Linked DNA regions of Homo sapiens: all the other regions are linked to region 1. The links are contacts of gene promoters, found by promoter capture Hi-C in blood cells and fetal thymus (Javierre and others, 2016). All regions are on one chromosome and are shown on one strand. Each heading gives the region's core, a stretch centred on a gene start or on the middle of the fragment in contact. The rest is flanking DNA. Distances are from core to core; before and after follow the strand shown.

Region 1 (5,139 bases), core at 1,198-3,697:
TCTTAAGATAATTTGCTAAGTATTATACAGTGTACACTGAAAAAGTGGACTTGGAAATAAAATTGCCCAAGCAAAATTTTTTCTCTCAACTTGCCGATATGCATTTTTGGGTATGTTTTGCTGTTTTAATTTATTACAGGTTTTTTGTTTGTTTGTTTGTTTTCGGGGGGACTGAGTTTTGCTCTTGTTGACCAGGTTGGAGTGCAGTGGCACGATCCCGGCTCACTGCAACCTCCAGCTCCCAGGTTCAAGTGATTCTCCTGCTGCCTCCTGAGTAGCTGGGATTACAGGCATGCTCCACCATGCCCAGCTAATTTTTTGTATTTTTAGTAGAGACTAAAAATACATTTAGTTTCATCATGTTGGCCAGGCTGGTCTCGAACTCCCGACCTCAGGTGATCTGCCTCCTAAAGTGCAGGGATTACAGGCGTGAGGCACCGTGCCCAGCCTATTTATTACAGTTCTATGTTTGGTCTTTGGCAAAATTTGACCATGATTATTAAAATCCATCTTCCTTATAATTTTGGTTTCTAACCTATTAGCAGTGGTTGTGTTTCTCCACTTCAAATTGCCCAGCTTGAGTGTTCTAGAGAAAACAGATAAAAGCCTTATAGTTATTTTAAACATTCAGATTACTACTGTAAACTCTGTTAACTTTTTTTTTTTAAATAGAGGTTCAGGAAAATCTCAAGAAACTGAAATTTAGAATATTGGACTACCTATAAAAAAGCAGTATAAAGGGTGCCTGAAATCGAACTGCTCACTGACATTTGTAGGGAGGTTTGATTTATAACAAATAAGTTGATCAAAGAAGAGTGATTGTTCCAAGTTAGAGATCTTTGTGTGGGTTAGGGAGTCCGATTGTAATTGGATGGGAAATAAATATTTTTTTTCTTGAATTGTGATTGGCTAAAATCCTTTTCTTTCCATGGTATTTTCTAATAACTGAATCTGGGGATTTTCTCTGCTTTTATTATCTGACCAGTGTGTTTGAGCTGTGTACCAGTACTAAAAGTACTAAGACTGTCGCAGACACGGTTTGTGAAATTTCAGGACGTTGACAAGGGCCCGCCACGGAGCATTTGCTGTTCTTATAATAAAGCAGTGACGAATTTAAATCTGTGAATAGCTTAAACATGTAATTAGTATCACCACAAATGAGAAGAATGAAAGGATCACATTTTCCCCCTCGTTTTCCCTTGAAGTCATGAACGGTTGGTTCTGCTGTGACTTTGGGGCTTAGTTTTCAGTAGAAGTGTTGTCCTGCTCTGCTGCTGTTACTGCGGGACTGCTAATTCAGGCTAACTCAGGCGGCGGGCGCTGTGTGCTCTGAACATCAAACCGCGGGTGAGGCGTCAACCCAGGAGTTTATTTTGTGATCAGAGTGGAACCACTACACTTCACTTTCCCCTCACCTCCACCTCTGAGGGAGCAACGAATACAAAGGTAGACCCCCAAAAGCTTTGAATAGCTGTCGCCTACTTTCCCGCGGCCCTCTTCATTTTTTCGTCTCCCGCTGCCGCCGCCGCCGCCGCCTCTGGATCTGGACGGACCCAGTGGCCGCTGCCGCCTCCGCAGGGCCGGGCACTACTTTCCGTCTGCGGTGGTTCCGCCGACCCTCCCGCGGCTGCTGCCCCGCCCGCGCCGGCGGAAGGAGACGCGCTGCGCGCCGCCGCTGCCCGGGGAGGGAGACGGAGCAGTACTGGCCGCGGCGCGGTGGCGGCGGCTGGGCTGCCTCGGGGTCTTCGACGGCCGCGTTGGGTTTTGTTTCAGTTTTCTTGTGTGGCGCTGCAGCACAAGGCTGCGAATCTGGGAGTCCAAAGGAGTGTTTGCGGGGAGGGCCCGAGGTCGCTGTGTCCGGGGCAGAGCGGCCGGTTCGTCCCGAGTCTGCGCTCTTTCGGGTCCGCTGCTGTGTCCCGGTCCGCTCTCCTCAGCATGAGCGGCCGGTAGGAGTGAGGTTTCATCGGTTCCCTCGCACTGGAGGAGGCAGCGGCCGCTTCGGCAGCGACAGCTATGGCGGTAGAGACGCGGGCAGAGCTGGTGGGTAAGCGGTTCCTGTGTGTGGCGGTCGGCGACGAGGCACGTTCGGAGCGCTGGGAGAGCGGACGCGGCTGGCGAAGCTGGCGAGCGGGGGTCATCCGAGCCGTGTCACACAGGGACAGCCGCAATCCGGACCTGGCGGTAAGAGAGTCAGCGCCCCCCTTTTCCCCTGCCGCGCCCGCACCCGGCTCTCGCAGACGTACCTTGCAGGCTTCCCTCTGGCGCCTCGCTCAGCCCGGCCAACTGGCGGTCACGCCCCTCTGCTGAACCCTTGGCGCGTTTGCCCGCATCCCTTGCCTGGGTCCCTGCGTCTCTCCGAGCGGCTTCCCCTGTGGAGGTGGTGTCGGAGCAGGACTCCCGGGATAGCCGCGGAGGCTGCCCTGGCCCCCATCCCGGAGGGGTCGACCGCGGCTCCCCGCTGTGGCGCCTGGGCGGCCACGGAGACCTCCCCGAAAGGCGGAGCCGCGAGTCCGGCGCCGCGCGGGCAGGTGGGGGTAGGGGGCGGACCACTCATGGCGACAGGCGGCCAGCTTCCCTGGTATCTCTTTTCTTGGAAAAGTCTTCATAGTGCTGTAGCTCGAGACTTAAAACTTATCCTGTAAGGTTGCTGAAGGGGAGGGAGAAAAGAAAAGAGACCTTCCCACACAGTCCGGGGATTCCTATGTGTTTTAGAGGCAGAGGCCGTGGTGGTGGCTGTGCCCGGATTCATCCTCTCCTTAATAGATGCTTGGCTTTCTAACCGTAAAGGATAAAAGTGAAAAATTTTGGTATGGAGGGTAATCTCTCTTTCTGTCCCCAATGTGCTTTTCTTGTTAGAAAGGTATAGTTCTTTGGAGTCAAGCTGTTTCTGGGTTTTATACGATTTTAAATAAGACGAAAAATGTTGTCAATTAAAATGTTAAATGCCATGCAGAATTGATTATCTTTTTTTTTTTTTGGTTTCTTACATGTGACGCTGCCAGTGCTTTCTTTGAGTAGCGTAGGTATGTGCATGATATTGAGCTGTAATATGCTCTGTTGTGTTCCAAGTACATTCTCACTGAGGGACAGCTTGAAGGTAAGGGGCGGAGTAGAGACAAGACATGGACTAGACTTCCAAAGGTTGATTTATGAATACGTAATCTGTGAAATTTATTTGTAATGCCCTGAGCCATTTACTTTTTCAATGAAAACTTCAAATTTAGGAAATTTTTTTCCCTTTGTGTGCATGAAAGCTTACAATTCCAAATTCATTGTAATATTTGTACAGGTATCTACCTAATATTTTTTACCTACCTATTTTAATAGTTTCTGAGTGTGTTTTTGTAAACTCGGGTTTTCCTCACTGTAGTCAATGATATGGTTAATGCGGCATGTATTAATATTGACTCGATATCGCAAAATAGGTGTGTTTTGCTGATAGGTATTTCTAACAGAAAATAGAGGTAGTTTTGAAGGTTTTGGCTGGTTATTTTCGTATAGAAATGTATAATCTTCCTTAAAAAGTATTGGTGATGTTAGTGGTTCTAAAAATTATGGCAGTTCAATTCAGTAACTATTTTTGTTTGTGTAAAAGGCTGAGGTAAGAGGATTGCTAGAGCCCAGGACTTATTAAGAGTCCAGCCTGGGCAACATAGGTGAGACCCCCTCATCTGTAAAAAAGGAAAAAAAAAATTTGTATATATAAATAACTTAATTGCTCTCTTAGTTGGGAATTTAAGTGATTAAAGAGTTAAGTTTGCATATGTTAGTAAGGTATTAAGCTGGATATTAAAAAATAAATTATCTATGGATGGTAGAGATTGACTGGAAAGAATAGGAGTTTCTTCAGGTGATAGAAATGTTTCCTATCCTGATTGTTGGTTACACAGATATATATATTTGTCAAAACTCGTTGAATTGATACTATCTTTGCGTTTCACCATATCTAAATTTTACCAAAAAAAGAAAAATGTATGTTGAACCATACCTATGTGAACCCTTGATGAGTTTTTTTAATCTGTCTTTATTTGAAAATTTGAATATTAATTTAGTTTTTTTAGCCTAGAATCTACCATTTTAGATTTATTCCCAGATTTTCTTACATTCACATTTCTTAAACGAAACTTGGAACAGTTTAGCATTAACATAATGTAATATTCCTGTTCGACTTTGATTACTGCAGAGTAGATTTTAAGTTACATGAAATTAGGCTAGGCACAGTGGCTCACGCCTGTAAACCCAACACTTTGGGAGACTGAGATGGGAAGATACTTGAGCGCAGGAGTTTTGAGACTAGCCTGGGCAACATGGCGAAACCCTGTCCCTACAAAAAATACAGAAATTAGCCGGGCATAGTAGTACAATGCCTGTGGTTCCATCTACTGGGGCGGCTGAGGTGGGAGGATCACCTGAGCTCAGTGAGGTTGAGACTGCAGTGAGCCAAGATTATGCCACTGCACTCTAGCCTGGGCGACAGAGTGAGATCCTGTCTCTAAATAAATAAATAAATATGTAAAAAGAAAGTATATGGAAAATGTTGAATAGGCTAGTTTGTGATTTTTTTTTTAAAGCTACAAATATGTATAATTAAAAACCTGTTAAGTCTACTAGAAGTCCTGGCTGGATACACCAGGCAGGACATGTGCCACAAACCTGTGGCACATGATTTGGAAGGATAATGATAAGAACTTCAAAGTAGTTGAGGGAATATTGTGTCTCAAAGATAATCAGTTATTCTTATTTTGGGTCTTATGTATGAGGAATTGCCACGTGAATTAAATTTCTATAATTGTTTAATTAACGTAATCTTGGTGGTTTAAATGTTATACGCTTATTATTTTGTAGTTCTGGAGATCACAAATAAGACCTGGATCTTGCTGGGCTAAAATCAAAGTGTGGCAAGACTGTTTATTCTAGGAGAGATCCATTTTCTTTCCTTTTCTAGTTTTTAGAAGCTGTCCACATTCCTTGGCTCATGGCCCCCTTCCTCCATCTTAAAAGCCAACCAAGTTGTATCTCTCTGACCGTTTTTCCCTAGTCATCTCCTTCTAACTCTCCTGCTTCCCCATTACACTTGTAAGTGCCCTGTTGATTACTTTGGGCCAATTGACATAATCCAGGATAATCTTGCCATCTATT
Region 2 (5,139 bases), core at 1,879-4,378, 190 kb after region 1:
TCATGTGAATAATACATGAAACATTCAGGAGTACTTATTTTATGCTTCTTTATATATACACAAGTGGTAGCAGTGTTTATGAAGAGTTTGGTTTATCACATTTATCTGTACTTTGCTCTTAAACACTAAGTAGATTGAACAAGATAATATTAAAATCTTAGAATTGAAAAGAATCTTTAATATTTTATAAACCATCCCCAGGCAGAGGCAGAAATATATTCCTTATAGTGACGACTTGACAAATTTTCATTCAGAATCTTTTTTTTTTGAAATGGAGTTTCACTCTTGTCGCCCAGGCTGGAGTGCAGTGATGCCATCTCGCCCCACTGCAACCTCCGCTTCCTGGGTTCAAGCTATTCTCCTGCCTCAGCCTCCCGAGTAACTGGGACTACAGGTGCGTTCCACCACACCCAGCTAATTTTTTTGTATTTTTAGTAGAGACCGGGTTTCACCATGTTGGCCAGGATGGTCTCAATCTCTTGACCTTGTGATCCGTCCACCGCAGTCTCCCAGAGTGCTGGGATTACAGGCGTGAGCAACCGCGTGTGGCCTACACTAACTTTTTAAATAATCGTACATATTTATTATTTGCCCCTCTTCTCTTCCCCAGGCAAAACATTTAGCATTCCTTCAAATGATCTTATTATTCTGTAATTTTTTTTTAAATTGATATGAAGTCTCGCCCTGTCACCCAGACTTGAGTGCAGTGGCATGACCTCGGCTCACTGCAACCTCTGCCTCCCGGGTTCAAGTGATTCTCCTGTCTCAGCCTCCTGAGTAGCTGGGACTACAGGTGTGTGCCACCACACTCCAGGTAGTTTTTGTATTTTTAGTAGAGACAGGGTTTCACCATGTTGGCCAGGCTGGTCTTGAGCTCCTGACCTGAGGTGATCACCCACTTCGGCCTCCCAAAGTGCTGGGAAAACAGGCGTGAGCCACCGTGTCCAGCCTATTCAAGTTTTGATTCCCCCCACTCCCATTTAAAAATGTATATGTAATATGTATTGGTTTAGTGTCTTCAAACCCTTCAGGATTCTTTCACATAAATTAATTAATTAATTTAGAGGCAGGGTCTTGCTTTGTCATCTAGACTGTAGTACAGTGGCACAAACATGGCTCACTACAGTCTTAACTTCGTGGGCTCAAGTGCTCCTCCTTTGTAGCTGGGACTACAGCCACATGCCACCATGCCCAGCTAATTTAAAAATTTTTTTTTGTTGTAGAGATGGTCTCACTGTCTCAAAGCAATCCTCCCACCTTTGCCTCCCTACCAAAGTGCTGAGATTATGGTGTGAGCCCCTGGCCCTTGGCCTCTTTCACATGCATTTCAAGGAAGCTAGTGCTTCTGTACATTCTACTTGAGTAGTTTGAGTTTTTAAACCTAAATGTAGGTAAATTTTTTCATTATTAAAATTTAAGGTTAATCCTTATTTTAGCTTTTTAAAATTTTTTTTCTGTTTCAATGGATACAATTCCAGATTTTCTTGATCATTTTAAAATCTAGGTCATGATTGTTTTTATCATAAGACATATTTTTAAATCACTATGTAATTTGTTTTGTTTGTTTCGAGACCACGTTTTTGCTCTTTTGCCCAGGCTGGAGTGCAATGGCACCGTCTTAGCTCACTGCAACCTCTGCCTCGTGGGTTCAAGCGATTCTCCTGCCTCAGCCTCCTGAGTAGCTGGGATTACAGGCGCCCGCCAACACACCGGAGAATTTTTTGTATTTTTAGTAGAGATGAGGTTTCACCATGTTGGCCAGGCTAGTCTAAAACTCTTGACCTCAGGTGATCCAGCTGCCTCGGCCTCCCAAAGTGTTGGGATTACAGGCGTGAGCTACCGTGCGTAGCCAGCCATTCTGTCATTTGTTAATTTGAAAATAGAGATAGCTTTCAAGCGATAATGAGTATATAAGACCAGAAATGAATGAATAACATATCACAGGTTAATAACAGTACTATTTTTTTTTTTTTTTTTTGAGATGGGAGTTTTGCTCTTGTTGTCCAGGCTGGAGTGCAATGGCACAATATCAGCTCACCGCAACCTCTGCCTCCTGGGTTCCAGCGATTCTCCTGCCTCAGCTTCCCAAGTAGCTGGGATTACAGGCATGTGTCACCATGCCTGACTAATTTTGTATTTTTAGTAGAGACAGGATTTCTCCATGTTGGTCAGGCTGGTCTTGAACTCCCGACTTCGGCCTCCTAAAGGTGCTGGGATCACACGCTCGGCAACAGTACTACTAATCAGTACTCTTTTTTTTGTTTGTTTGTTTGTTTGCTTGCTTTTGATTTTTTTGGAGATGGAGTCTCGTCTGTCGCCCAGGCCAGAGTGCAGTGGCGTAATCTCAGCTCACTGCAGCCTTTGCCTCCTGGGTTCAAGCGATTCCTGCCTCAGCCTCCCAAGTAGCTGGGACTACAGGCATGCGCTACCACACCCGGCTAATTTTATTATTATTATTATTATTATTATTATTCTCTTTTAATTGTTGTATTTTTAGTAGAGACAGGGTTTTACCATGTTGGTAAGGCTGGTCTCAAACTCCCAACCTCAAGTGATCTGCCTACCTCAACTTCCCAAAGTGCTGGGATTACAGCTGTGAGCCACTGTGCCTGGCCTATTAATCAGTACTCTTTAACCCACTGCAGATATGTAATTATCATCCAGCCTGTATTTCATTGACTTACCTATTGTAGGTTGTCTTGATAAAAGTTTTGTTTAAGTCAAGTTCCTTAAAGCTTAGTTTCAAATCTTATTAACCTAATAACTTTTGTTTTTATTAAAATGCAGGCTGGGTACAGTGGCTAATGCCTGTAATCCCAGCACTTTGGGAGGTCGAGGTGGGCAGATAACCTGAGGTAGTTGGAGACCAGCCTGGCCAACATGGCGAAACCCCATCTCTACTAAAAATAGAAAAGTTAGACAGGCGTGGTGGCGCACACCTGTAATCCCAGCTACTCGGGAGGCTGAGGCAGGAGAATCTTTTGAACCAAGAGGCAGAGGTTTCAGTGAGCCAAGATCACAAGATTGCACTCCAGCCTGGGAGACAGAGCAAGACTCTGTCTCAAAAAAAAAAAAAAAAAAAAAAAAGAAATGCAAATTACTCTCAATGAATATATTTTGCTCTTACTTGGTCAATTTGTTTTTTAAAAATTTTCATTATACTGATTATCCATTGTTGGCTCAAGATACCCCACCCAAAATATTCTGGTAAGAGACCAGAATATACCATCCCCAAAATATCTTTTTTTGCCATGTTTTGAGCTAGTTATTCTGAGAATCTGCAGACACAGGAGTAATTTTGAAAAGCTGCCCTTTTGTAAAAGAAATTTACCCATCTATAAAGGAGATCTACTTTAGTAAAAGTTACCTGTATCAGGGAAAGGGCTGCTGCAGACAACTGTTATTACCTGAGAGACTTTAGTCTGCATAACAAGACTATCTTTATTCATCATGTATTTCCTCCTCTCACTCCATTTTGTATAACTTGTGTAGACACCAACCCTTAAAAGCCCCAAGCTTCTGGGAGTCTCGGTGGCTCAGGCCGGTTGCCCTGGCACTCGGGGAGGCGAGGCTACACATTCGAGGCCAACCTGGTCAACATTGATTAAAAAAAATAAAAAAATAGAGATTACTATTTTGGCCAGGCACGGTGGCTCATGCCTGTAATCCCAGCACTTTGAGAGGCCGAGGCGGGCGGATCACGAGGTCAGGAGATCGAGACCATCCTGGCTAACACGGTGAAACCCTGTCTCTACTAAAAATACAAAAACTTAGCTGGGCGTGGTGGTGGGTGCCCGTAGTCCCAGCTACTCGGGAGGCTGAGGCAGGAGAATGGCATGAACCCGGGAGGCAGAGTTCATGAGCCGAGATCTTGCCACTGCACTCCAGCCTGGGCGACAGAGCGAGACTCTCTCTCAAAAAAAAAAAAAAAAAAGCCCCAAGCTTCTATTCCTTCCATAGCTTCAGATGCTGTATAAGCTTCAATATCTCACTCTTCAGTGAGTCTCATATTTTGTGGGACTACTGTTAATTACATACGTAATTAAAATTGGTTTCCTGGTAGGGTGCCATGGCTCAAGTCTGTAATCCCAGCACTGGGAGGTTGAGGAGGGTGGATCACCTGAGGTCAGGAGACCACCCTGGCCAATATGGCGAATCCCTGTCCCTACTAAAAATACAAAGATTAGCTGGGGCGTAGTGGTGGTGGGCACCTGTAATCCCCATGCCTGCCTCAGCCTCCTGAGTAGCTGGGATCACAGGCACCTGCCACCATGTCCAGCTGATTTTTGTATTTTTAGTAGAGTTGGGGTTTCACCATGTTGGCCAGGCTGGTCTTTTTTTTTTTTTTTTTTTGAGACGGAATCTCACTCTGTCTCCCAGGCTGGAGTGCAGTGGCGGGGTCTCGGCTCACTGGAAGTTCCGCCTCCCAGGTTCACGCCATTCTCCTGCTTCAGCCTCCGGAGTAGCTGGGACTACAGGCACCCGCCACCCCGCCCAGCTAACTTTTTGTATTTTTAGTAGAGACGGGGTTTCACCGTTTTAGCCAGGATGGTCTCGATCTCCTGACCTTGTGATCTGCCCGCCTCGGCCTCCCAAAGTGCTGGGATTACAGGTATGAGCCACCGTGCCCGGCCTCAACTGCCTATCTCTAATGTCTTGGCAATGCCATGATTTTTTTCAAAGACTACCAGTTAATGGCTCTGAGCTTGTACCTACCAATTTAGTATTCTAACATATAATTTAATCTATGATTTTTAATTACTAAAAGCATGAAGACGTTCATAGTATTGTTTATAATACAAAATTGCAAGCAGCTTTAGCATTCAACATTAAGAGAATGAATAATAAAACTAATGCTTTAATAAACTCATGCCTGTTTTTTAAGTCGTTAAAATGATGGCAATGTAAGAACATGAGAAGATTATTAAATAAAATGAGCAACTTAAAATTTGCGTGTATCCTGAATGTTGATAACTAATATGGTTGTGAGGAAAAAAAGGGCTGAAAGTGCACTTAAATAGTTAACTGGCTGGGTTCACTAAGGATAAGAATATGGGATCTTTTTCATGCATTTATTTTACAAATTTTCTCAAATATAATTATGTTACTTGTTAAGAAAACTATTTTTGGAAACAAAAA
Region 3 (5,139 bases), core at 817-3,316, 170 kb before region 1:
AAACATGTACATATGTTCATAGAAAAAATATGGCCAGGATATATTCCAAAATGTTAATAGAAGTTTTTTCCTCAAGGAAAGTGATTTTTATTTCCTTTTTCATATTTTCTGTATTTTCCAAATTTCCTATAGTAAGTATATTACTTTTGAATAATAAACCAATAGGCTGGGTGCAGTGGCTCACGCCTATAATCCCAGCACTATGGGAGGTTGAGGTGGGAGGATCACCTGAGGTCAGGAGTTCAAGACCAGCCTGGCCAACATGGCGAAACCCCATCTCCACTAAAAATACAAAAATTAGCCGGGTGTGGTGGTGTGTGCCTGTAATACCAGCTACTTGGGAGGCTGAGGCACAATAATCACTTGAACCCGGGAGGCAGAAGTTGCAGTGAGCTGAAATTGTGCCACTGCACTCCAGCCTGGGTGACACAGCAAGACTCTGTATCAAAAATAAAAATAAAAAGAAACCAATAAATGCTAACAAAGAACTTGAGAGGAATGACCATCTGATTCAATTGGTAAAACTTCTCTTTAATAAGAGGACTGGAAAGCAGGCAAGGAGAGATCTTAGAGTGTATCCTGGAGTTTAAGGAGAGCTAGTGAAAGATTTGAGTCTGGCAAAGATCACCGTAGGTGCAGTGTAAAGAATGGATTAGAAGGGAGTAAGTGAGAGGTACAAAGTCCTCTTAGTAGGCGTTTGCAAGAATCTGAAGGAAAAAACTCTGAGGTCTTCGTTTATATTGAGAAACAAACCTTGTGTACTTTCTGAGATCTCCAGAGTGCCTGTTGCTTTACTTTTGAAGTTGGAACAAGTACCACACCTTGAGCTTGGGATCTGCCTTCCTGAGAGCCGCCAAGCGGCCAGATGACACAATCCAATTCAGGGGTGTTTATCTCTCCATGGGGTAAACCTTCACCAATGGCAAATGGATCCAGGAGAGAGACAGGAAGACACACTCACTCTTTTTTCTCATGTGGAATAGTCCAAGATGGAGTTCTTCCTTGTTAACCCTTCCAGGGACGTCCCATGCCTGCTGAGTGACCTGTTGTATGACTGCACAACAGTAAACAGTATAACAGTGCATCTCACTGTGTCCCATCTTCCCCTCCTCTTCCCCCTCCTTAGCAGACTGCTTTGTGCCCTGCTTTCTACAGTAGCTGGGCTTACACCACTTTTACCAACATAGTGGCACCAGGAGCGAGTGAAGAGGAGAACAAAACTTCAAGAGATATTTGGAAGGTAGTATTGGCACCAGTTTGGTGGCTGACCTAATGTGGGGAGTGAATGAGGGGGGTATATTTAAGACGACGCCTAGGTTTCTTTTTCTTTCTTTTCTTTTTTCTTTTCTTTTTTTTGAGACGGAGTCACTCTGTTGCCCAGGCTGGAGTACAGTGGCACGATCTTGGCTCACTGCAGCCTCTGCCTCCCAGGTTTAAGCGATTCTCCTGCCTCAGCCTCCCGAGTAGCTAGGATTACAGGTATGTACCACCACACCCAGCTAATTTTTGTAATTTTACTAGAGACGGGGTTTCACCATGTTGGCCAGGCTGGTCTCGAACTCCTGACCTCAGGTGATCCTCCCACCTCGGCCTCCCAAAGTGCTGGGATTACAGGCGTGAGCTACTGTGCCTGGCCCAACTCCTAGTTTCTAACTTGGACAACTAAGTGGCTAGTACTAGCACAATTCCTAGCACATATTAAGCCCTCAGGGAATATTTACTGGATGAATAAATGCATGACTTATGGGACCATAACTAAGGTAAAGACTGCAGAAGGTGTTTATTATTGAATCATATGTAGAATACCTCAAGGAGGTTTCACAAACACTAGTTGGAGGTGTTTGCAGTCCTTTCTAAAGAGGCATTCATACAGTTATATATGAACGAGTCAAGGCCCTAGAAAGAGAAGTGAAAAGCTGAGCCTAGAAGGGTGCTGACAGCCTGTCCACAGTTCAAACAGGTTTCATTCTTGTTCAACCCGAATATGGACCTAATCTGTTCCAAATAAGCTGAGTTTAAACTATTTCAATTGTCCATGATTCACAAAGCATCCCGGCCCAGTTCACATAGTGCTAAATCTAGAACCTCTAATTTCTGAGCTATTTTCATTTTACGAAAACCACAGAAAAACAGAGCTAAAAAGCCTTCCAAAGGTTATCTGGCCCACTCCCCTAGTTCAGGAATGATTTGGTACACAGGTTTAGCAAGATCACTGGTATTTATTTTTCTGTAGAGCTGACTGACACTCAACTACCAAATAACAATATTATGTTATGGAAATGCCAGCCAAGAAAAGCCTACAGAATTAAAAAGGAAGAAACATCTTTTTTTCAACTATAATTGGGTGGTGTCCCCTGAAGGTACAGTTTTTTGCAAAGTTAGGGATATTTTGGCTTAAATGGAATTTATGGCTAAGCAAAAATGCTAGACTAGCAATGGTTATAAAATAATTATTGTACTTGGTGCTAAAACTAAAATTACTGGTCTAAAAGCATGATGAAAATTCCAATGCCAGTCACTTCAGAGTAGCATCTTTTTTTTTTTTAGATGGAGTCACGCTCTATCGCCCAGGCTGGAGTGCAGTGGCGCGATCTTGGCTCACTGCAAGCTCCGCCTCCTGGGTTCACGCCATTCTCCTGCCTCAGCCTCCCGAGTAGCTGGGACTACAGGCGCCCGCCACCACACCTGGCTAATTTTTTTGTAGTTTTAGTAGAGACGGGGTTTCATCATTTTAGCCAGGATGGTCTGAATCTCCTGACCTCGTGATCCACCCACCTCGGCCTCCCAAAGTGCTGGGCAGAGTAGTATCTTATAAGTACTCAAGTTATAAAGTCCCCAAGAAAGGGGAGAACCAAGTACAGCCAAATAGGTTTGCTTTAAAAATACTCAGACATGGCTTACTATGTTCTAGGCACTGTTCTAAGATATTTATATTATTAATTTAATCCTTATAACAATCCTATAGAGGTAGTACTATTATTAGCCTCATTTCATGGATGAAGAAACTGAGGCATTGAAAGCGTAAGTAACTTCCCCAAGGTCAGACACTAACGTGGTGAATCCAGGACTCAAACTCATTACGGAACTTCTCTGCATGTAAGGGCCATGCTGTTCAAACTGTCAGCATCTTTAAACACCCAGCATGGCACATTGATCATACTGTGAATAGCACAGGGGAACTAAGAGATAAAGTAGATTCACATCTCCCATCTCATACTTGTTCTAGTGCATACATTTACTGAGCAAAATAGTAAACACACTTCCTCACACTATTTAAATTGTTCTCATTCTTTCTCTGTCACTGAGTGACCGTAGTTTGATTTGCATATTTATTGGGTGCCTTTTCTATGACAGGTACAGTTTTGGACTGGAAGTTCCTTGTTGAACAAGATTGACCAAGTCCCTACACTCATAGAACATGCATTCTAGAGGTAAAGCAAACAATAATCAAGTAAACAGGTAAACAGGATATTTGATAAGAGATGTGAAGGTGAATAAAGTAGGGCAATTGGTTAGGGAACGGCTACGGCTACGGTGCTTCATTTATATTAGGGGTGGTGATGAGGGAAGTCCTCTCTGAGGCAACATTTGAGCAGAGACCTGAGTGAGGTAAGAGAGAAAGCCATGTGACGGTCTGGGGGTTGAAAACAGAGGAAACAGCAAATGCAAGACCCTAAAGCAGTAGTCCGCTTCATATTTCTGAGGAACAGTGAGAAGGCCAGTTCCTGGAGAGGAATGAACAGGGAAGAAAGTGATAGAGGATGAGGTGAGAAGATTAGGCAAGAGTCCAGTCATATAGGTTGTGGTGAGGGAGTGTGGATTTTATCCAAGTGTGAAAAGAAACTACTAAAGGATTTTGAATAGTAGAGTGAGCACATTTCATTTGTATTTTTTAAAAAAACCGCTTTGGCTGCTGTGTGGAGAATGAAATATACGGTGAAGGAGTGGAAGCAGGGAAAATACTTAAGAGGTGATTGCAGCAGGTTGGGCAAGAAATGATGGTGGTTTGGACTAGTTGCTAGTGCAGGAGGTAGTAAGAAGGGATGGGGTTTGGGATACATCCATATCCATAAATTAGAGCTGAGAGGGATGGCTGCTTTTGCCTTTGCTGGTGCAGTGAGAGCAGCTTCAGGAATCCGATGGCTCTTGAATATTTTGGCATCTTCAGCATACAGAAACTGTGTCAAGAATGCCTCTCTTATTTCTGCATTGTCCACTGGACGTTTCAGTCATATTTAGACACCAGTTGTTTCCTCCACTTCCAGACTTAACCACATCTGAGAGAAACCTGACATGTGGGCATACTTCAGCGATCCTTAATAGAGTGTCCCCCTTGCTTCCGAGTGTCCTGAAGCTGCCAGTCAGATCTCTAACATACTTCAGTACATGAAAAGACAAGAGAAAGACTGTGAAAGCTGTCATCTACAGGTTTCTTCGACTTCATTGTGGCCTTTGGGTGAGGTGAAAGGCTGGTTAAAAGAAAAAAATTATGGAAAAAGGAACCTGCAAGAAAAAAGCGATTGAGGGAATTTGTATTCTGCAATAAAACCCAGAGTAAACTCTTAAGATAAAATGGCGACGTCATTCTGGGAGAGGTAAAACTGGTATGTCCATGATCCTTATCAGAAGTATCATGATTGAACAAACCTGAAAGTATAGATCAGAAGTTTCACTTGTTTCTCAGTTATTGAATATGTATCTTTGTGTACATGCTATCTTTGCAAAAATGGAGAAGATGATGTAAATTGTACCAATGAATATGTAAACATACAGTGACAATATTAAACTTATAAAAGTTTTAAAAAAAATTAGACCTAAGAGGAAGGGCTGATCCACTGGATGTGGAGTGTGAGGGAGGTAATTTAGGGAGATGAGGGAGCTGTGTTATTATTTGGGAAATATTTCTCAGGGAAGATGATGAGAAAAAAATTGCATAGGAGGCATCTGAAGGTAAAATGGGACTAGAGCCCTGACCACAAAGGCCACAGCTCTATCCTGAGGAACTTTCTGAGAACATGACAGGAGACCCACAAGAGGGCACACTTCTCTCTTCCAGCCAAAATTATGGACACCTTCCATTCCAGTCCCTTCTGCTGCTGAAAAGTCATCCTTCAGACCACGATCATAGACAAAAGAAGA
Region 4 (5,139 bases), core at 1,838-4,337, 150 kb before region 1:
TAGTACAATGTCAATGAACATTGATTATAATGATCAGAGGCCATTCACAGTCCTCCACTGCTTTCTGGGTATAAAGACAATATGTTATTATGGTTAACTGTTTACTATTTAATCTTCATGTAGCATTAGTTGAAAGCAAAACTGTGTGGTTAATTTTATTCATTGCTTTCTTTGTTTATGCATAGGGCTGGGACTGGGTATTTGAACTATGTGATTTGCTAAATGAGAATGCCATTTTCTACGTATAGCAGAAGATTAAGAGTTTACCATTTTCAAAATTTCCTGATATCCTGATACATTGATCTGAATAAAGAATTTTAAATATAAACTGCTGGCCAGGTGAGGTGGCTCACGCCTGGAATCCCAGCACTTCGAGAGGCGGAGGCGAGAGGATTGCTTGAGGCCAGGTGTTCAAGACCAGCCTGGGCAACATGGTGAAACCCTGTCTCTACAAAAAATGAAAAAATTAGCCAGGTGCGGTGGCATGTGCCTGTAGTTCCAGCTACTTGGGAGATTGAGGTGGGAGGACTGCTTGAGCCCAGGAGTTTGAGTGAACTGTGATTACGCCACACTGCACTCCAATTTGGTTGACAAAGCAAAAAAGCTCTATCCCCAAAAACTAAAAAAAAAAAAAAAAAAAAAAAAAATCAAACTGCTGTTCTACCATTCCAATCCTTCATTTATGGATCATTAATATCCTAAATGATAACACAGCAGGGAAATCCTTCACTAATCATTAGGAAAACAGCTCTACACTTAACCAACCTCTTTGCGGCCTTTGGTGGTTTTCACAGATTTCATGCTTTGCGATCTTCGAAGCCCTTTGTGTGTTAACATCTCATTATCTGAATATGGCCCCTCTGCTTCTTCATCTGTTTTCTCATCTCCGTCTTTCAGTGGAATTCCATAACCTAAACAAGTTGTCAAAAACAGCATGTTTTGGTAAAAGGACACCAGTCAGCGCCGGCTCTTTGACCCATCTGTGTACAGTTCTTTGTATGGTTTGCATTTCCCCCAGTTACTCTTTTTGCATCTGGAATGTGCTCCATGCCCTTTATCATTAAGCTTTGCCTCGCACTATTCCAGGTGAAACTCATAACTCATTTCCTCCAGGAAATTTTCCCTGATCATTCTTATTTTTACTATGCATTTTTAAAAATAATTATAAAATAATTTATTTTTGAGTAGGTAACACACCATCTTGTTAAAAAATTCAAGAATATAAATAGATATAGAGCAAAAAGTCTCTTCCCACCTTTCCTCCTCTTCATGAATTCAACCCAAGCATTTGTGTTTTAGTCTGTCATTTGCACTTTTGCCTTGAATTAGGAATTAAGGCTTTTCCGTTCTATGTGTCGTATCTTTTGTCAAGACTGGGAATGGTAGGGTTTACTTAAGGCATTGAGGAAGACCCCAGGGGGCTAGAACTTTGGGCAAAATAAGGTCACTGGGGGCAGGTGATGAGGATGGGGATGTTAGCTGCTATTGCAGTTGCTGAGATAAAACCCAGCCAGGTAGGCTGCAGTAATTAGAAGTACCACAGACTGTGTGACAGATACTAGTCAAAGAAAATAGAATCAGGCAGATCAGTGAGAGATCACGCGAGTATGCTAGAAGGCTGTTATGTGTAGCTATAAAGACTTACTACGGGCCAATATGCAAACATCCACACAGTCAGGAAGTCTGAGAGCATCTTGAGGCTTGGCCTCAAGGACGAAAACTCTTCCAACCCTGAAGCTGAGGTTCTCAAACTTGAGCACGTCAGAGTTACCTTGAGAACCTGTTAATACAAGTTCTGACAACCCCAGAATTTCTGATTCAGCAGATTTGAGGTGGGGCTGAGAATCTGCATTTCTGACAAGTTCCCAGGTAATGCTTGTGCTCATGGTCTGTGGTCCACACTTTGAGAACCACTGCCTGAGGATGCTGGAGACAGCAAGACAGGGGCCCAAGTCTCAGACAACCAGAGTACTAAGTAGGTTATAAAGAAAGGGGTGAGATTAGAAATCCCCATGAAGAGGCCGGGCATGGTGGCTCACGCCTGTAATCCCAGCACTTTGGGAGGCCCAGGCGGGTGGATCATGAGGTCAGGAGATCAAGACCATCCTGGCTAACATGGTGAAACCCTGTCTCTACTGAAAATACAAAAAAAATTAGCCAAGCATGGAGGCAGGCGCCTGTAGTCCCAGCTACTCGGGAAGCTGGGGCAGGAGAATGGCATGAATCCGGGAGGCGGAGCTTGCAGTGAGCTGAGATCGCGCCACTGCACTCCAGCCTGGGTGACAGAGCGAGACTCCATCTCAAAAAAAAAAAAAAAAAAAAAAAAAAGAAGAAGGAAAGAAATCCCCATGAAGTTATAAATTCTCCTTTAATAAAAATAAGGAGCATAAGGAGCATAAATACTTAAATTGTCAGGTGAGGAGAAAGTGGAAGGACTTACAGCCAGGCGCAGTGGCTCACACCTGTAATCCCAGCACTTCGGGAGGCCAAGGTGGGCGGATCACCTGAGGTCAGGAGTTCGAGACCAGCCTGGCCAACATGGTGAAACACCCGACTCTACTAAAAACACAGAAATTAGCTGGGCGTGGTGGCAGGAGTCTGTAATCCCAGCTACTTGGGAGGCTGAGGCAGGAGAATCGCTTGAACCCAGGAGGTGGAGGTTGCAGTGAGCTGAGATTGCACCACTGCACTCCAGCTTGGGTGACAGAGCAAGACTCCATCTCTTTAAAAAAAAAAAAAAAAAAAAAAAAAAAGAGTAGAAGGATTTCCAGGCTTAGGAGAAGGCACGGGATAGATTCCGTGCATGTGATAAAAAATAAAACTGGGGTGGGCTTTGGTGGCTCATGCTGATAAAAAATAAAACTGGGGTGGGCTTTGGTGGCTCATGCCTGTAATGCCAGCACTTTGGGAGGTCAAGGCAGGTGGTTCGCTTAAGCTTAGGAGTTTGAGATCAGCCTGGGCAACATGGTAAAACCTTTTCTCTACAAAAAATACAAAAATTAGCCGGGTATGGTGTTGTGCACCTGTAGTCCCAGCTCCTCCAAAGGCTGAGGTAGGAGGATCACCTGAGCCTGGGAAGTCAAGGCTGCAGTGAGCTGTGATCATGCCACTGCATTATAGCCTGTTTCAAAAAATATACATATTAAAAAAATTGAATACATGTTTATTGGTCTGCTCTTCTAAGACACGAATAATTTGAGAAACACTAAGCAAACTACAAAGAGTTGTTAATAAGCTTGTTACTCTCATAATAACATAAGCAACTTGCATTGTATATTAGTCAGGTATAATTTTATGTTCTTAGACTTCTAGGCTAGAAGTCAGAGGAGATTTGGAAGTGGAATCAGTCCTTATTTAGGCCAAGATCCTTTGTTTTCTTGCAGTGGTCCAAGGAAGTGTGTGTGTTCCGGGTGGAAGAAACAGCATGCACAGAGGCAGTGAGGAGAGTAGCTAGGGCTTGGGGATTGCTTGGAAGAACTGCAAGGAGGCCAGTGTGGCAAGGAAGGGGATGGATCAGTGGTCCTGGAAAAAAGCTCCTGAAGCAATATTAAGTGTGGAAAAAAAAAATGTACATATAGAAACAAACAAAGGAAAAACATAAATGAAAGGATTATATCTCATGGAAGTGAGCTTTCAGGTGATTTTAAATTTTTTCATTTTTTCTTTTTTTACTTGCCAAATTCTTATTTTTAAAAAATGTTTATTTTATAATTGAGAAAAATAAACCAGGCTTCAGGTTTAGGTTGTCATTTCTAGATTTTTTTTCCTATTGATGTTTGCTTATATAGTATTCCTGATCCTAATATGGTAAAACAGAATGAGGAATCAAGGAAAAAGTCAGAAAGGAAGTAACTGTGATAAACAATTTCTCTAAGGCCACAAATGTAGCATAAGAGCACAGTTCAACAAACCCAGTCCTTGCTATTTTAACTGCCTCTCATTTTGTATGATTAGGAATTGGAATTTCATTCAAAAGCTGATTATACATCTTATTCTTTTCTTTTTTCCTAATTCCAGCTAAAAAAAATCTTATTAGCTATCTAATTATAGCTTCAGGAAAAGTGATGGATTGATTCATTACTCCACAAGTATTTTTAAAATTCTATTATGAATGAGGCAGTGTGCTGAATTATGAGGATACAAGGATGAAAAAGACACAGCTGTCTTTTTCTACCCTCAAAAAATTTAGAGTCCAATAGGGGAAACAGACGGTAATGGGCATTATGATACTGTAATAAATACTATAAGCTAATGACAAGGTGCCAGAGGGCATACAGTAAGAGAATGTAATCAGCATGGGGTGGGTTGGAAAGGGTGGGTTATGAGAGAAGGCCTTGTAGGAGGTGGTGGCTAAGCTAAATCCTCAAAGAGTCATGATTCTGTATGGCTAGCACTTGATGGAGTGGGAGAACAAGGCTGGGGAGTTAATACACCATGCTATCTAGTTTGGACTTCGTCAGAGAGCAATGAAGCCTCTGGAGGCTCGGGGAGAGTATTGAAATGTTTTAAGCAGAAGAGTAACATGATTAGAGTTGGGTTTTGTAAAATATTCTTCTTGCGCTTTGGAAAATGAATCAGAAATGGATAAGGCTGAGGGAAGGGAGCGTAAGTGGGGAGGTTACTGTAGTATAGCAGGTCAGAAATGACAGAGTCCACAGAGAGTGAGGACAGAGCAAGGAGCCAAATTTAGAATTTATTGGGAAATGAAATCCACAAGTTTAGGCTGGGTGTGGTGGCTCATGCCTGTAATCCCAGCACTTTGGGAGGCTGAGTGGGTGAATGACATGAGGCCAGTAGTTTGAGACCAGCCTGGCCAATATGGCAAAACCCCATCTCTACTTAAAAATACAAAACTTAGCTGGGTGTGGTGGCACGTGCCTGTAATCCCAGCTACTCGGGAGGCTGAGGCAGAGAATTGCTTGAACCTGGGAGGTGGAGGCTGCAGTGAGCTGAGATCGCGCCACTGCACTCCAGCCTGGGCGACAGAGTGAGACTCCACCTCAAAAAAAAAAAAAAAGTTTAATTTAGCAATTTATTAAACCAATCCTTGAATCAAAGAGAGAAGAGACACTAGAATCAAGTCAAATATTTTCATTAAAATATACATTTTCTGGCTGGGCTTGGTGACTCATGCCTGTA
Region 5 (5,139 bases), core at 861-3,360, 140 kb after region 1:
ATATTGTCCATCCTTTGGGGGCCCACATAGAAAAAAAAAAAAAAAAAGGCAGACGAAGGATGAATTGGCTCTTTCTGAGCTGGAACATCCTTGTCTCCTGCTTTCAGATGTGGGTGCTCCTGGTTCTTCATTTTTCAGACTTGAACCAAGACACACCACTGGCTTTCCTGTTTCTCCAGCTTGTGGGCTGCAGATCATGGGATTTTGGCTTTCATAATCATATGAGATAATGAGCCTATATATATATATGTATACACACACACATATGCAAACACACAGAGAAACACACACAAATATGCTCACACTCTATTGGTCCTGTTTTTGTGGAGAACTCTAATACAAAGACATTTGAAGATTGAGAGAATGCACAAGATGGCCCCCGCAGGCCATTGTACTAGCCATCTCATTTTATATCACATCTAAGTATGCCTTGAATTTTTTTAGTTTTATGTACCTGGCCTTATTGTGCTCTTATCAGTATGACTTCTGGTTTTTGAATGGATAACATTGTTTTATAACTTGTGCTTCAGAAAATACCAGTGCTGTTTCTTTCCCCCCTTTCTTTTTTTGAAACAGTCTTGCTCTGTCACCCAGGGTGGAGTACAGTGGCGCGATCTTGGCTCACTGCAACCTCAGCCTCCTGGGTTCAAGTGATTCTTCTGCCTCACCCTCCCGAGTTGCTGGGATTCCAGGTGCGTGCCACCAAGCCTAGTTTTTGTATTTTTAGTAGAGGTGGGATTTCACCATGTTGGCCAGGATGGACTCAAACTCCTGACCTCAAGTGATCTGTCTGCCTTGGCCTCCCAGAAGTGTTAGGATTACAAGTGTGAGCCACTGTACCCGGCACCACTGTTGTTTCTAGGCTTAATTAATTTGTTGTGGCCAACAGGCTTTTCCTTGTGTTTCAGCTTTAGCACTACCTGTCCATCATAGCTGTCATTACAGCTTTGTTGACTTTACTGTCTCGCATACTCTTACCCAGTGCTGCTTTGGTCTTGCCCAAGGCGGCAGTTCTTTCCTTTTCTCTCTTCTCTACTTTTTGTTCAACATTATCTAATTTTCATATATAGATCTATGTATGTATATGTTAAATTTTTATATATATTAAATACTTTTCCCAGCTCTGCCTCTGTATTTATGACTAGATACGTAAACAATTGTTAATATACATCAATATATATTAATTACATTAATATTAACATTTGATATAGATTCTGTTCTTTCCTCAACTGTGCCTTGACAAACTTAGGAAAAAAAAAAAAGTTTTTTTTTTTTTTTTTTTTTGAGATGGAATCTCACTCTGTTGCCCAGGCTGGAGTCCAGTGGTGCGATCTTGGCTCACTGCAACCTCTGCCTTCCAGGTTCAAGCAGTTCTCCTGCCTCAGCCTCCCTAGTAGCTGGGACTACAGGAGCGCGCCACTAATTTTTGTATTTTTAGTAGAGACGGGGTTTCACCATGTTGGTCAGGCTGGTCTTGAACTCCAGACCTTGTGATTCTCCCTCTTCGGCCTCCCAAAGTGCTGGGAGTACAGGTGTGAGCCACCGTGCCTGGCCAGAAAATTTTTTAACAATTCAAATAAGTGTAAAAAGTTAAACCCTATTCTATCTTAATTTCTTGCATTTTGTATTTTACAATTTAGCAGCTTTAAAATCATCGTACTGAGTCCCTTCCACCTAAGTCACTTTCCATCTCTTGCGCTCATAATATACTGCAGGTTGGCATATACCTTTTAACTAAGAGTTTAGAGGGGGATTTTGTCTTTGTAGAAATCTGAATTTTCCAGAGGAAAAAAATTCTGAAAATTTAGAGTCCTTAGGTGAGATCCTCAGTAAACTGACATCCACTCATTTTAATAATATTCTTTTCTCTTTTATGTAAATTGATAACCAAGGCATGTGCAACATTTGAAAAGAGCTTTCCCAACATGAGAGAGAATAAACATGTAGGAAAAAAAGAATAGCCAGGAAAATACAAGGAACTGTTTTGAAAGCTTTGGGGGAAAATCCTCTTAATATACTCAGATGAGAAGATATTTCATCATTACAATGAATGAACTGGTTTAGATTCCTTAAAAGACATTCAAGAAGTGTGACTTTTGGCTTCCTCACCCAAGGTCAGCTTCAGCAGTTAGAAGGGAAAACTAAATGTTCTGAGCAAATGGTGAGAAATCCCCTAGGTTGGTGGAAGAAAGGCTGTTTTGAACTGGTGTGTGGAATAGAGAAGCTTTGTCCCAGGTCAAGAGAGAGGGCATCCTCTTGGCTATCAGAAGAAAAAATAGGAAAGGAACTATTGAAGCTCTTCACGCCTTTGAAGCAAAGGTGCCTAACTCGCGTACACTTGTAAAGTATCAGACCTTTGATATTTTGAGGAGTCAATTCAGGATAGTGCAGAGGCCCTTTCCTTCTGAGTGGATTTAAAAAATGAACTTTTGCTTCCCTACCTCTTACCCAGACAGTTCTCAGTGCTAATACGCTATAGTTGGTAAGAGATGCAGGAAAAACCAAACCAAATTGTTTTTTCCACTGTCGACTCAACACAACACTTCTGACACCAGATGTGTTGGGGTATTTTCTTACACACCTAGCAGATCTCCAGCAGACATGAGCTGGATATCCTCCAACTGAATTATTTTTTCACGCTGTCTACCTACAGCTAGCGTCAGATCCCACTGATTGAGGACTCAATCTCACAAGACTGCCTCCCACTTCAGATGACAATCGCAAGTAGTAGGTTGTCACCTATACTTCTGACTGAGCAGCTATAAAATTCACTGATCAGCTATAGACCAGCTCCTTCTCATGTTCAATTAGTTTGCTAGAGCAATTCACAAAGGTCAGAGAAACACTTTACTTATTATGTTTACCGATTTATTACAAAGAATATTTTAAAGGATACAAATGAATAGCCAGATGAAGATACATGGGATGGGATCTGGAAGGGTCCAGAGAACAGGAACTTTCATCCCTGTGGAGTTTGTGTGTGCCACCCACCTGGCACGTGGATGTGTTCTTGTACACCAGTCTGGAACCTCATTCAAACTCTATTTTTAGGGGGTTTTATGGAGACTTCATTACATAGGCATCATTGATTATATAATTGGCCATTGTTGATCAACTCAATTCAGCCCCTCTCCTCTCCCTGGAGGTCTGGGGTGGGGCTATGAACTTTCCAACTCTCTAAACACATGGTTGGTTCCCTTGGTAACAAGCACCATCCTGGGGCTATCTAGAAGCCCACCAAGATTGCCTCATTAGAACAAAAGAGTCTTCTGTCACCTAGGAAATTCCTAGGGATTTAGGAGCTCGGTGTCAGGAACCAGGAGTCAAAGGACAAATATTAGAACAAAAGATTCTCCTAGTGCCTGTATCTACAAGGATTTTAGAAGCTGTATGTCAGGAAATGGAGACAAAAAACAAATATATATTTCATGTTATCACAATAGTCGAAGAAGAGTCTCCATTTAGATGCTTTAACATGTGAAAAAATAGTGAAGCTACTTTCCCAAGGAATTGTTTTGAGAAAAGATGAGAGATTGTAGTTTTCTGCTGCCTGGAATATTCCACCTTAGGTATTTTCCACCTGTATGTCTTGAGCTCAATGGGGCTGACAGTGATTGTGGGCTGACATCGTCTATATACATTGCTTAAATGTATTTTCCTAGAAGAAAATGAGCACACAGACCAAATAAAACATTCAAAGGAAAGAAAAATAATATACTGGATTACAGATGCCATTAGTAGTAGAAATACTAGATTAGACAAATGATGAATATAAAATTATCCTAATAAATGTATTAAAAATATTAGAGGAAGATAATATGAAATAAAATCTAAAAGAAAAAATTACTCAATATCAAAAACATAATACAAAATGTAAGATATGCTGGGCATGGTGGTTCACTCCTGTAATCCCAGCACTTTGGAAAGCTGAGGTAGGCGAATCACTTGAAGCCAGGAGTTCAAGACCAGCCTGGCCAACATGGTGAAACACCATCTCTACTAAAAATATAACAATTAGTTGAGTCAGGCATGGTGGCTAATGCCTGTAATCCAAGCGCTTTGGGAGGCTGAGGCGGGTGGATCACCTGAGGTCAGGAGTTTGAAACCAGCCTGGCCAACATGGTGAAACCCTGTCTCTACTAAAACTACAAAAAAATTAGCTGGGTGTGGTGGCATGTGCCTGTAATCCCAGCTACCCAGGAGGCTGAGGCAGGAGAATTGCTTGAACCTGGAGGTGGAGGTTGCAGTGAGCCAAGATAGCACCACTGCATTCCAGCCTGGGCAACAGAGCGAGACTCTGTCGTGGAGAAAACAAGCAAACAAACAAAAAGATGAATAACAGAATTGATCTATTTGAAGAACAAAATTGTTAATTGGAAGATTAAAGAGAATATTTCACGGGGATAAAAGGACAAGGAAATAGCAAATATAAAAGAAAAATTGACAGCTATCAAATACAGAAATAAAGGTATTGACATCCAGAAGATAGGAATCTAAGAAGGGAGATAATTTTTTTTAAGTGGAGAATAAATACTTAAAGGGATAAAAGGGATAGTTTTCTAGAATTAAAGTGAGAGAGAAAAGAGAGAGGTGAGAAATTTCAGATTAAAAGGAGTTCAGAGTCAAGAGAGAAGAAAGAAACACAACATACGTTAAAGTTAAAATATAAGACTGCCAGAGATAAAGAAAATGCTAAAGACTTGCAGAGATGAGGGAAAAAAAAAAGTCACAAACAAATGAAGAAGAATTAGATTGGCATCACACTTTTTCAGCAGTAACTCTTGAATGTAAGCAGAAAATGTATTAGCTTTTTTTTTTTTTTTTTTTTTTTAGATGGAGTCTCGCTCTGTCGCCCAGGCTGGAGTGCAGTGGCGCAGTCTCAGCACACTGCAAGCTCCGCCTCCGGGGTTCACGCCATTCTCCTGCCTCAGCCTCCCGAGTAGCTGGGACTACAGGCCACCACCACACCCGGCTAATTTTTTGTATTTTTAGTAGAGACGGTGTTTCACCATGTTAGTCAGGATGGTGTCGATCTCCTGGCCTTGTGATCCGCCCACCTTGGCCTCCCAGAGTGCTGGGAGCATTTTTTAAGGTTTGAAGAGAACCTAGATTTTAAATCCCACCAAGTTGTCATTCAGA

The links. Contacts are between HindIII fragments. The CHiCAGO score rates a contact against its expected background, and 5 or more counts as called.
Region 2: a fragment that was not itself captured here is called in contact with the fragment with the promoter of JMJD1C-AS1 in region 1 in 16 of 17 cell types (total CD8 T cells, total B cells, fetal thymus and 13 more); the score reaches 8.9 in total CD8 T cells.
Region 3: a fragment that was not itself captured here is called in contact with the fragment with the promoter of JMJD1C-AS1 in region 1 in 10 of 17 cell types (M2 macrophages, naive CD8 T cells, M1 macrophages and 7 more); the score reaches 7.4 in M2 macrophages.
Region 4: a contact is called between a fragment that was not itself captured here and the fragment with the promoter of JMJD1C-AS1 in region 1, in 1 of 17 cell types (erythroblasts). The highest score is 6.0, in erythroblasts.
Region 5: a fragment that was not itself captured here is called in contact with the fragment with the promoter of JMJD1C-AS1 in region 1 in 6 of 17 cell types (M1 macrophages, M0 macrophages, endothelial precursors and 3 more); the score reaches 8.4 in M1 macrophages.

What each region holds. Positions count from the first base shown.
Region 1 is chr10:63,462,537-63,467,675 of GRCh38, reverse strand. JMJD1C-AS1 (JMJD1C antisense RNA 1) reads right to left here and starts at 2,447. Exons shown (of 1, transcript NR_027182.1): 1 at 1,113-2,447. JMJD1C (jumonji domain containing 1C) reads left to right here and starts at 1,699. Exons shown (of 26, transcript NM_032776.3): 1 at 1,699-2,181. The coding sequence starts at 2,014. RefSeq lists enhancers at 1,237-1,286, 1,737-1,906, 1,987-2,056, 1,678-2,467 and silencers at 1,557-1,706, 2,247-2,586. The HindIII fragment of the contact is 1,793 bases long and covers 1,464-3,256 here.
Region 2 is chr10:63,275,680-63,280,818 of GRCh38, reverse strand. The region is part of intron 2 of JMJD1C (jumonji domain containing 1C); the gene reads left to right. Among named protein-coding and RNA genes, the nearest start is that of MIR1296, 95 kb to the left of the region's middle. The HindIII fragment of the contact is 781 bases long and covers 2,738-3,518 here.
Region 3 is chr10:63,633,778-63,638,916 of GRCh38, reverse strand. It overlaps the pseudogene MRPL35P2. Among named protein-coding and RNA genes, the nearest start is that of REEP3, 110 kb to the right of the region's middle. RefSeq lists a silencer at 1,749-1,848. The HindIII fragment of the contact is 9,997 bases long and covers 1-5,139 here.
Region 4 is chr10:63,615,427-63,620,565 of GRCh38, reverse strand. It overlaps REEP3 (receptor accessory protein 3), which reads right to left. Exons shown (of 8, transcript NM_001001330.3): 7 at 766-911. All of the region lies in intron 1 of LOC105378329 (a long non-coding RNA gene), which reads left to right. Among named protein-coding and RNA genes, the nearest start is that of REEP3, 97 kb to the right of the region's middle. The HindIII fragment of the contact is 300 bases long and covers 2,938-3,237 here.
Region 5 is chr10:63,318,948-63,324,086 of GRCh38, reverse strand. The region is part of intron 2 of JMJD1C (jumonji domain containing 1C); the gene reads left to right. Among named protein-coding and RNA genes, the nearest start is that of MIR1296, 52 kb to the left of the region's middle. The HindIII fragment of the contact is 233 bases long and covers 1,994-2,226 here.